Linked DNA regions of Homo sapiens: region 2 is linked to region 1. Evidence: promoter capture Hi-C in human tissues and cell types (Jung and others, 2019). All regions are on one chromosome and are shown on one strand. Each heading gives the region's core, a stretch centred on a gene start or on the middle of the fragment in contact. The rest is flanking DNA. Distances are from core to core; before and after follow the strand shown.

Region 1 (6,059 bases), core at 2,128-4,627:
AACCTTCCACAATGGCCATTGCAGTCTTACACAAAAAAATACTGGGATTATTGCCCTTGTTATTCATCTTTGCAGCAAAGGATACTTATTTTAAAACAATTATGCCATCGTCATTTTTGTCCTTTAAAAATCTTTGTTTTATTTTACCTCCCTGAATACACACATAATTTACTATGGCATGCATATTCCTATTGCAAAATTCAATTTCCAAATAAATATTTTTAAAGAGCCTCTTTCTGTTTGTTATTTAGGTTAACATAAAAAATCTAGAGATGATTTAAAGTAAACCAAAGGATGTGTGTTAAGTTACATGCAAATACTACACCGTTTTATATAAGGGACTGGAGCATGGTCTGATTTTGGTAGCTGAGGGGGTTCTGAAACCAATCCCCCACAGATACTGAGGGATGACTGTACTTTAAAATATCATGTTGTACACAGTAAAAATATACAATTTTATTTGTCAATTAAAAAATAAGCTCCTTGAGGGCAAGAACTGGATTTTATAATTTATTTTTTATGTCTCAGTAAATCCAGTAGACCTCAGCACAGATGTTCAATAAACCTTCCTTAATTATAAACTAAAAGCAAGAAAAAAAGAATGACCACTTTCAGCAAGGCTGGAAAATATGGCTTCCTACTCATGTTAAACTGAGTAATTGCTGTTAAATCAGAACTAGAAATATGATTGGATATACACTGTTAAGTCTTTTTTGAAAACGACTTTTCTGACTTTTGGGGTGCCCAGTGGTCCTTGACTTACCTCTCTTCTTACCCTGCATACCTTCTCTGGATGAGCTCATTCTTTTGCCACCAATTCAACCGATTTCAGTTCTCTCTACTGAGTCCTCACTGGGTTGGTTTTTGTCTTTTCGGTTTTTTTTTTATAGGGAGTCTTACTTTCTCGCCCAGCTTGTACTGCAGGGGCGTGATCACGGCTCACTGCAACCTCCGCCTTCCAGGTTCAAGCGATTCTCCCGCCTCAGCCTCCTGAATAGCTGGGACTACAGGAACAGGCCACCACGCCCGACTAATTTTGTATTTTTAGTGGAAACAGGGTTTCACCATGTTGGCCACGCTGGTCTTGAACTCCTGACCTCAGGTGATCCGCCCGCCTCAGCCTCTCAAAGTGCTGGGATTACAGGCGTGAGCCACTGCGCCCAGCCCTCAATGGCTTTTTCAACTGTCTAGTGGGTATTTCCAGCTGGATGGTTCATAGCAACAAAAGACAAGTCAACCCATTTTCCCCAAACTTTGTCTTCCTTCTCCGCTCTTTATGGAACTAGAAACCAAAGCATTGCTCATTCATTCATTCAACAAGTGTTCTCTGAATACCTACTCTATACTAACCAGGATGTACAAAAGGAAAACCAAAAGCGCAAAAATCCTCGATCTCGTGGAATTTACATTCTAGGAATCTACAGACAAATAAATAAAAAAGTCCTGTTAGATGACAATACATGTTATTAAAAAAAAGACAAGAAGTGTGTGTGTGTGTGTGTGTGTGTGTGTGTGTGTGTGTGTGTGTGTGTGTGTGTGTTGGACAGGGCATCATTCTAGACTTTTCTTCCTCCTCCCTTCCCTTTGATCTGATTAGCAATTGCTTTACCACCTACCTCCTTAGTATTTCACCTTTTCTTACTCATATTCTTCAAACTCATGGTGCTACTTTAATTTACACAGACACAAGAGGTTTCTTTCTCTACCCCTACTACCCCAATTCATTCGCCTCACTTTGGCCAGAGAAACCTATTGAAAATAAAATCTGATCATGTTAGCGGCTGCAATTGTTCAGCACCCAGGCTTGTCAAGCAAGGTACTCTCGAGCGCCCCCGTGGGTGAAGAAAATAACAACATCTATAGCCTGAGAAATAGCAGAAGCTGCCTCTAAAAACAAAATTTATTTTCGAAGGCATATATTTCAAACTTTGAAATCCATGTGAATTTTGCAATTGTTCCATAATATAGCCCTGATAGTTTTAATATATTTTTAATGTTTTAACTAACTTGCCAGCCAAATTATTCTTTTAGCACCACCCCCAACTCCAAAGACCCCCTTCCAAACAGGTGCTGACTTGAGACCGTGACTATAGAGCACTTGTCTCTAAAATGTACAAAATGAAGAGAAATCTCAAGATGTCCCACTGAGATGAAGAAAGAAAGAAGAAAATATGTATGTTTGTATACATGTATACATGTATATATATGTATACACAAAATTAGAAAAGTTAGGGTCTACTGTATAAATTAAATAAGCGTTGACAGTGCTTTTGATTTTAATCTGTATGTGGTACTTTGCCTGCTTAACACCCTTATGTGGATTTCCTGACGGACTTGACATTCCTGTCAGGAAAGCATTGCGTACTTGCTGATTAAAAAGCATCTAAGGGCCGGGAGCGGTGGCTCACGCCTGCAATCCCAGCACGAGGCAGGAGGATCACCTGACGTCAGGAGTTCAAGACCACCCTGGTCAACATGGCGAAACCCCGTCTTTACTAAAAATAGAAAAATTAGCCGGGCATGGTGGCGCGCGCCTGTAATCCCAGCTACTCGGGAGGCTGAGTCAGGAGAATCGCTTGAACCCGGGAGGTGGAGGTTACAGTGAGCCGAGATCCGTCTCAAAAATAAAAAATAAATAATGAAAAAAATTAAAAATTTAAAAATTAAAAAACATTTAAAAAAGCATCTAACTTAGATGGGTAATGGGTCAAAAGAAAGGCAGACTGCCACATGCAGCGCCTCATTTGGATGTGTCTGGAGTCTTGGAAGCTTGACTACCCTACGTTCTCCTACAAATGGACCTTGAGAGCTTGTTTGGAGGTTCTAGCAGGGGAGCGCAGCTACTCGTATACCCTTGACCGAAGACCGGTCCTCCTCTATCGGGGATGGTCGTCCTCTTCGACCGAGCGCGCAGCTTCGGGAGGGACGCACATGGAGCGGTGAGGGAGGAAGGGGACACCCGCCTAGCCAGCCAGATCAGCCGAATCAACCCTGGCGATCAATGGGGTGACAGATGTCGCAGCCAGATCGCCCTCACATCCGAGGTACCCAAGCGGCGCACAAGCTATATAAACCTGAAGGAAGTCTCAACTTTACACTTAGGTCAAGTTGCTTATCGTACTAGAGCTTCAGCAGGAAATTTAACTAAAATCTAATTTAACCAGCATAGCAAATATCATTTATTCCCAAAATGCTAAAGTTTGAGATAAACGGACTTGATTTCCGGCTGTTTTGACACTATCCAGAATGCCTTGCAGATGGGTGGGGCATGCTAAATACTGCAGTCTCCATTGGTGAGGTCGTCCCGGAGCCTCGCCCAGCTCCCGCGCGCTAGAGCCGCCTGCTGGTCTCACCCAGCCGGGACCGCTGACCTGGCGCTTTGTGCGGCTCCAGGCCTCCGAGTGGACTCCAGGTCTGTCTCCCTCCTGCGGTCGCCCCCTTCCTCGCCCTTTCTCTCTTCTTTTTTTTCCCTCCCCTTTACTCTCTGAGTCTCACTCTCGCATTCTTCCCTCACTCCCCCAGTTCAGTCCTTCTCTTGTCTTTTCTTCCTCTTGTCCTTTGTCCTCCTGCTCCATCCAGTCTGGGCAGAGGTGGGCCCCTTGGCTGGAGCTGGGGTCCTTCTTGGCTCAGTGTGCGTATTTTTTTTTAAACCCCTTCTGCGGAGTCTGAATGCATTGGTGGAAGGTGGGCTCGGATCGTCCCCGGGCCTGGCTGGGCTGCCGCTACGCCCCTGCATGGGCTGAGCGGGGAAGACGAGCATGGGAGAGTGCGATCTCAGATGGCCAAGCCCTGGCCCCCGGCTCGTTTTACAAGGCCGGGGGCTCATCTCCCTGTAGGGGTGGTGGACACGCGGGACCCGGGGGGCGCAGCCACCGCATGCGTGACGGTGGACGCACATTTTGCAGACAGTAGTAGTACTCGGCCTGTTCACCTTCCAGTTGCCGTGATAATAAAATATGATGATGTATGTAAAAGCATGAATACTTGAAGAGCTTCCAGTGGCTGTGCGATTTTCCTTCGCTACCCTCTTCAACGCCTGCCACCCCCTATCCCCCAGCTGAATTTGGAAAATCTGAGATTCTCGAGGTCAAAATATATAATATTCTGAATTTGTGAAATCCCGTACTGCTAGCACATATGTTTTTACAACAAATGGCCCCAGCTTCCCAAGATCCAGGATAAGAAGTCATAAATAGAAATCATATAAAAGCCAAGGTTTTTTTCTCCATGTTTTAAAATGGTGGTTTTTTTTTCTTGAGTGAGGGAAAATGCAGCAACAAAAATAAAGAACAGTTTCCCGTGCCAAAATCCTGAATATTCATTTCGCCCCTGAGCACTGGGTTGAAGACGCGAAATTGGGACTGTTGGTCTGCGACGAGCTGCTGCATTTGTATTTCAGAAAGCCTGAAAAGCTATCATGGCAGCAAGGCCCAAGCTCCACTATCCCAACGGAAGAGGCCGGATGGAGTCCGTGAGATGGGTTTTAGCTGCCGCCGGAGTCGAGGTACCTTATATGCTGTTTCTTCACGGATTTGTCATACAGCTTTTGAGACCTTTGAAAGAAAAATACGTTTTGAAGCACCGTTCAGTTCTAGTTCTCGTCCACCAAAATCACAGGCACGCTTCACTGAGTCAGATACCATCCCTGAAGGGATTTTTCTTTATAATTAGAACGTAGTTGATGGAATTCTATTTTCCTTTTGACTTTTACTTAATTATTGGCTTCTGATCTAGCACCAGTGAATATTTATTAATAAGAAGAAAGGAAATTTACCTGAAAATTGTCAGTTACTCTGAGCTCTTATTAATTATGCATTCTCAGGGTAAATTTCTTGTTTTCTTCAGTGGCTTCAAACTGGCAGCCTTGGTATCTTGCTTACATATGTGTGTGTGTCTGTTTTTGTTTTCGTTCTGTTCTTTTAGCTTCTTAGTATGGAAATTTTCAAATACCAATAAATGTAGAGAGAACATTGCCATGAATTCTATGTACTCATCACCCGACTTCAGCAATCATCAGCTCTATGCTAATCTTGTTTCATCTATCACCTCCCTTCCCTTGTTTTGTGGGAGTATTTTAAAGCAAAATCCAAACATCATAACATTTCATCTGGGAGTTCCTCAACATTTTCCTCTAACAGATGAGGATTTTAAAATGTAACAATATTATTATCACATCCAACAAAATTAGCAATTCTTTGTCATCTAACCTTCAGTCTGATTGTCTCAAACAGGCATTTTGTTTGTTTGTTTGTTTTTATAGTTTGTTTTAGTTTGGATCTAGACATTGGTCTACGCATTACATTTAAAATGGTTATGTTTCTTTCGGTATTTTAAAAACCTGTAAGTTTCCTCTTCATTTTTTACAAATTTATATTTGGGAATATTTTCAGATTTATAGAAAAGTTGTAAAATAATACAGTCCCTCATTCAGTCTCCCTTAATGATAACATCTTACATCACCATGTCATATTACGAAATTAACATTGGTGCATGACTAACTAAACTACAGACTTTATTCAGATTTCACTGTTTTTTCTACTAATGTTCTGGGTTTTTTTTTGACGGAGGCTGGCTCTGTAGCCCAGGCTGGAGTGCAGTGGTGTGATCTCGGCTCACTGCAACCTCCGCCTCCCAGGATCAAGCAATTCCCCTGCCTCAGCCTACCTAGTAGCTGGGACTACAGGTGCACACCACCACGACCAGCTAATTTTTGTATTTTTTTAGTAGAGACAGGGTTTCTCCATGTTGGCCAGGCTGATCTTGAGCTCCAGACCTCAAGTGATGCACCCACCTGGGCCTCTCAAAGTACTGGGATTACAGGTGTGAACCACCACGCCCGGCCCTTTGCTAATGTCCTTTTACTATCCCGCGATCCAACATTATATTTATTCATCCTGTTTCCATAGTTGCCAACAATCCATGACAATTTCCCAGTCGTTTCCTTCATTTTACCATCTTGACGGTTTTGAAAAGCACTGGTCAGATATTTTTGTAGAATCCTCTACAAATTGGGTTTATCTTGTTTTTTTCATGATTAGACTGAGGTTATGGGTTTGGGG
Region 2 (5,931 bases), core at 3,154-5,653, 480 kb before region 1:
TATCTCTCTTTATTACTCCTTTTTCTTTTCTTTCTTTCTTTTTTTGTTTTTGTTTTTTGTTTTGTTTTGTTTTTTTAGAGATGGAGTCTCACTGTATTGCTTAGGCTAGTCTCAAACTCCTGGGCTTAAGCAATCCTCCCATCTCAGCCTCCTGAGCAACTGGGACTACAGGAGAGCACCACCATGCCCAGCTTTATTACTTCTTTTTAAAAAATAAAACTTTTTTTTAAAAGCAGAGAACGTGCTCATTCATTCTGCAGCTGGATCTTGAATAACTTTTCCACTTTGAGAGTTCTGACCCCAAAAACATTGCTGTCACTTTCCAGGTGTTCTATCCTTCCTTGGACCCCATAGCCTGGCTGCCCAGGTCAGACAAGTATGGAACATTTGTTTGTGAGGACAGAGACAGCCACTGGCAACATACCGAGGTATTACAGAGACTTGCTGTGAAGCAAGGCCAACAAAACATCACTTACACAATCAAATAACAAAGAGGGGCATCTTTTTCAAAATTAAAGGTCTATGTGTAAATAAATTCTTTCTGAAAAATAAACAAGATATGAGATAAGGATCCAGGTTTGCTTTGGTATCACTATGGTTACTAGAATGATGTTCAAGACATTTTCACCATGTTCTCCTCCTTTTGAATGCACGCCACAAGTAAAGCATGCCTGAGTTTGGTCTAGAGAGCCTAGGGTGCATTCTCTTTCATGGATGTAGAAGGGATGCAGTTAGCACATTGCTAGTCTTAAAAACAAACAAAAATCCTAGGGAAGATCCTCTCCTTTACTGGCTCAAAAAAGCCCCTGGTAAGAAAAAGTTGTTATACTATTAATGACATGACTGTTTGGTATTGTAAATATCACTCTCAATCAACCAGTATTAGTGAGCACTTCTGAGCACACTCACCATAAGAAGTCATTTACCCGATGGTTATTGAAACTGTTCCATATGAAATTTTGAATTAGTTGCTCAATGTTCTCATTTTTGCCACAGTGTTTTTCTTGACCTAGAGACATACTCAGTTCTATTCCTCATAAGAACAAACTCTTAACTTTGTTCCTGTAACCTAGACTGAGGACTCAGAACTGACCTCGTTTCACTGCTGCATAATACCATATTTCCTGTTTGACAAAGATCCTACCTTGAGCTTGCAAAGACTCCCTGCTTCTTAAAACTGAAACTGGACCCCTTCCTTACACTTTATACAAAAATTAATTCAAGATAGATTAAAGACTTAAATGTAAGACCTAAAACCATAAAAACCCTGGAAGAAAACCTAGGCAATACCATTCAGGACATAGGCATGGGCAAAGACTTCATGACTAAAACACCAAAAGCAACGGCAACAAAAGCCAAAATTGATAAATGAGATCTAATTAAACTAAAGAGCTTCTGCACAGCAAAAGAAACTATCATCACAGTGAACAGGCAACCTACAGAATGGGAGAAAATTTTTGCAACCTACTCACTTGACAAAGGGCTAGTATCTAGAATCTACAAAGAACTGAAACAAATTTACAAGAAAAAAACCCCATCAAAAAGTGTGCAAAGGATATGAACAGACACTTCTCAAAAGAAGACATTTATGCAGCCAACGAACATATGAAAAAAAGCTCATCATCACTGGTCATTAGAGAAATGCAAATCAAAACCACAATGAGATACCATCTCACGCCAGTTAGAATGGTGATCATTAAAGTCAGGACACCACAGATGCTGGAGAGGATATGGAGAAATAGGACTGCTTTTACACTGTTGGTGGGGGTGTAAATTAGTTCAACCATGTGGAAGACAGTGTGGCGATTCCTCAAGGATCTAGAACGAGAAATACCATTTGACCCAGCGATCCCATTACTGGGTATATACCCCAAGGATTATAAATCATTCTACTATAAAGACACATGCACACATGTTTATTGCGGCACTATTCACAATAGCAAAGACATGGAACAAACCCAAATGCCCATCAACGATAGACTGGATAAAGAAAATGTGGCACATATACACCATGGAATACTATGCAACCATAAAAAGGATGAGTTCATGTCCTTTGCAGGGACATGGATAAAGCTGGAAACCATCATTCTCAGCAAACTAACACAAGAACAGAAAACCAAACACCACATGTTCTCACTCATAAGTGGGAGCTGAACAATGAGAATACATGGACACAGGGAGGGGAACATCACACACTGGGGCCTGTCAGGGGTTGGGCGGACCAGGGGAGGGATAGTATTAGGAGAAATACCTAATGTAGGTGATGGGTTGATGGGTGCAGCAAACTACCATGGCACGTGTATACCTATGTAACAAACCTGCACGTTCTGCACATGTACCCCAGAACTTAAAGTATAGTAAAAAAAGACTCCCTGCTTCTTAGTCATTTTCCCTGATAAACATATAAAATGATTGATCATGAATAGAGAGAAAAAGGCACAAATAAGGACAGGAGGCAGTAGAACATAGAGCTCAAGGAACAAGGTCTCTGGCATCTGATTGCTTGACTTTAACTATGTGACCTTGGGGAAGTTACCTAACCTGCTTATGCCTTAGTTTCTTCGTATGCAAAGTAGGGATGGTAATAATAGCACTTACAGAGTTGTGAGGATAAAAGAACTAGTACAAGTCAAGCATTTAAGATAGTGCTTATAGAATAGTAAGCACTCAATAAATGCTAGCTATTTTTCTAGCTGAGTGCAGTTTTAAAAAATTATCCTTAAAAAAAATTCAAAAGACTACTGTAAACTTTAAGTTGATATAAAACTCATAGCAAAACATCATCAAGAAAATGGAAAGCTAAGCCGGGCACGATGGCTCATGCCTGTAATCCCAGCACTTTGAGAGGTCGAAGCAGGAGGATCACTTGAGGTCAGGAGTTCAAGACCAGCCTGGCCAACGTGGTGAAACCCCGTCTCTACTAAAAATACAAAAATTAGCTGGATGTGGTGGCGAGTGCCTGTAATCCCAGCTACTCAGGAGGCTGAGGCAGAGAATCACTTGAACCCAGGAGGTGGAGGTCACAGTGAGCCGAGATCATGCCACTGCACTCCAGCCCGGGCCACAGAGTGAGATTCGACCCGCCCCCACCCACCCCCAAAAAAAATTAAAATGGAAAGCTGAATAGCTAGCTGGGGAAAATATGTGACACAATATAACAAAAGGTGAATGTCCTTAATATATAAAGAGTTGGTAAACATTGACAATTAAAGATATTAAGACTGCCTAGAAAAGGCAAAGGATATGAAAAAAAATTCACAAAAAAGGGAAAGCTTGAAAAGCCGTCTTGTGTTAATGGATTGGAAAACTTAATACCGTTATGATTGAGTACTACTGAAAGTGATCTACAGATTTAATGCAGACTTAAACGAAATGTGACATATACATTTCACACCAGTCAGAATGGCTGTCATTAAAAAGTCAAAAAACAACAGATGCTGCCAAGGTTGTGGAGAAAAGGGAATTCTTACACACTGCTGATGGGAAAGTAAATTAGTTCAGCCTTGTGGAAGGCAGCTTGGTGATTCTCAAAGAATTTAGAACTACCATTCAACCCAGCAATCCCATTATTGGGTATATACACAAAGGAATAAAAATCATTCTAGGATAAAGACACGTGCGTGTGTATGTTCATTGCAGCACTATTTACAATAGCAAAGACATGGAACCAACCTAAATGCCCATCAATGGTAGGTTGGATGAAGAAAATATGGTACATATACATTATGGAATACCACACAGCCATGGAAAAGAACAAGATCATGTCCTCTGCAGCAACAGGGATGGAGTTGGGGGCCATTATCCTGAGCAAACTAGTGCAGAAACAGAAAACCAAACACCACATCTTCTCACTTATAAGTGGAAGCTAAGCATTGAGTACACAAGGACATAAAGAAGTAAACAACAGACACCAGCACCTACTTGAGGGTGAAGGGTGGGAGGAGGGTGAGGATTGAGAAGCTACCTGCCTATCAGGTACTATGCTTATTACCTAGGTGGCAAAATACTCTGTACACCAAACCCCTGTGACACACAATTTACCTAAGTAACAAACCTGCACGTGTACCCCTGGACTGAAAATAAAGGTTAACAAAATAAAAACAAATAAAGATTTAACAAAACCAAAGGTGGGAAAATGTGGTTGGTATATACATGCAATAAAATATTTAGCCTTTAAAAAAAGGAAATTCTGACACATGCTACAACATAAATGGACCTTGAGGACATGCTAAGTTCAATAAACCAGTCACAAAAGGACAAGTATTGTATTTTTCTAATCATATGGGGTGTTTAGAGTAGTCAAATTCAGAGACAGAAGGTAAATCATGATTGCTGGGAACTATAAGGAGAGGGAATGGGATATTGTTGTTTAATGAATGTATAGTTTCAATTTGCAAGATGAAATGGGTTCTGGAGATTGGTTGAACATGGATTTACTTAACTACAGAACTGTACACTTAAAAAATGGTTAACTGGTAAATTTTATGCTATATGTATTTTAACCACAATTAAAATTTTAAAAATAAAAATTAAGAAAAAAGGGAAGGCTAGGCCGGGCATGGTGGCTCACGCCAGTAATCCCAGCACTTTGGGAGGCCAAGGCGGGTGGATCACCTGAGGTCATGAGATTGAGAGCATCCTGGCCAACATAGTGAAACCCCGCCTCTACTAAAAATACAAAAATCAGCTGGATGTGGTGGCACGTGTCTGTAATCCCAGCTACTTGGGAGGCTGAGGCAGGAGAATTGCTTGAACTTGGGAAGCGGAGGTTGCAGCGAGCTGAGATTGCACCACTGCACTCCAGCCTGGGCGACAGAGAAAGAATTCATCTGAAAAAAAAAAAAAGAAAAGAAAAGAAAAAGGGAAAGCTAATGAATGAATAGAAAAATAAACAAACCTACTTGTAATCAAGGAAATGAAACGGGAAATGGAATTAATTTTTGCTAACAAAATTGGTAGAGTCGGGTTTTTTTAAGAGTATAATACACAACACTGGCAGAGATAAAGCAAAATGGGCACTTTCCCACACTTCGATAACACTAACCTAAGAGCTTTAAAATATTCATATTTTTACTGAGATAGTCTATTTCTAGGAATCTATCATAAGAAGATGATCAGAAATGCAAAGTGCATATTATATATATATATTCATGTATATCAGTATAACAATATCTCTTCATAGTGCTACTTATAATTTTAAAAAATTAGACAACCCAAAGTAAGTCTACTGATACAGAAACAGTTATAAATGTTATGTTTTGGAATGAATGGTATGTAGCATTTGCAACTGCTAGAAAAGGTATTTATGAATAATTTTTAATGACATGATAAAATAATCATCATGTGGTTTTAGTACATGACACAGATCATGGAGCCTGATATGCAATAAAATAACAACTATGCAACAAATACAAGTAAGCATACTAAAAAGAATGGAAGCAATTTGAAATATGCACAGTGATTTCCTTTAGCTGGTCAGATTTTGGATGGTTTTAATTGTTTCTTTATACTTTTCTGTCATTTTCATTCTTTTACGTAAAGTGGATCTAGGAACACTGCAAGGCCTCCATGGAAGATGCTGTCTTTACTTTCAATCTCATGCCAGATCTGTTAGCCAATGGCTCTCAACTAATGGACATTAGGGTTAACATCAATTAACTCTTCTTCAATTCTCAAATTTATGTTTGTTTGTGTTCTAGACTCCAGTCATAAAAGATAGCCTTAAAATATTACTACATGTCAATGATGTGAGATTGAGGAAAAAATATATAAAAATAAATTAAAAATAAAAAATAATAACATTACCAAGTTTTTAGTTACTAGCTTTTTGTTGCTCTGTGGTAGTAAAATACATATACAAGAGTATTATTATAACTTTTCAGTGACTAATGGCATTATTTTTTGTTTGTTTGTTTGTTTGTTTGTTTGAGA

The links. The method cuts DNA at HindIII sites, captures the fragments that hold promoters and counts their contacts. A contact is called where the count stands out against the background at its distance.
Region 2: a fragment that was not itself captured here is called in contact with the fragment with the promoter of GSTA4 in region 1 in 1 of the 25 tissues and cell types used here (dorsolateral prefrontal cortex).

What each region holds. Positions count from the first base shown.
Region 1 is chr6:52,992,602-52,998,660 of GRCh38, reverse strand. GSTA4 (glutathione S-transferase alpha 4) reads left to right here and starts at 3,377. Exons shown (of 7, transcript NM_001512.4): 1 at 3,377-3,412; 2 at 4,400-4,504. The coding sequence starts at 4,418. It overlaps RN7SK (RNA component of 7SK nuclear ribonucleoprotein), which reads right to left and starts at 3,041; the gene lies at 2,710-3,041. RefSeq lists silencers at 2,804-2,893, 3,225-3,456 and an enhancer at 3,054-3,273. The HindIII fragment of the contact is 14,338 bases long and covers 1-6,059 here.
Region 2 is chr6:53,476,679-53,482,609 of GRCh38, reverse strand. All of the region lies in intron 3 of GCLC-AS1 (GCLC antisense RNA 1), which reads right to left. Among named protein-coding and RNA genes, the nearest start is that of GCLC-AS1, 48 kb to the right of the region's middle. The HindIII fragment of the contact is 6,838 bases long and covers 985-5,931 here.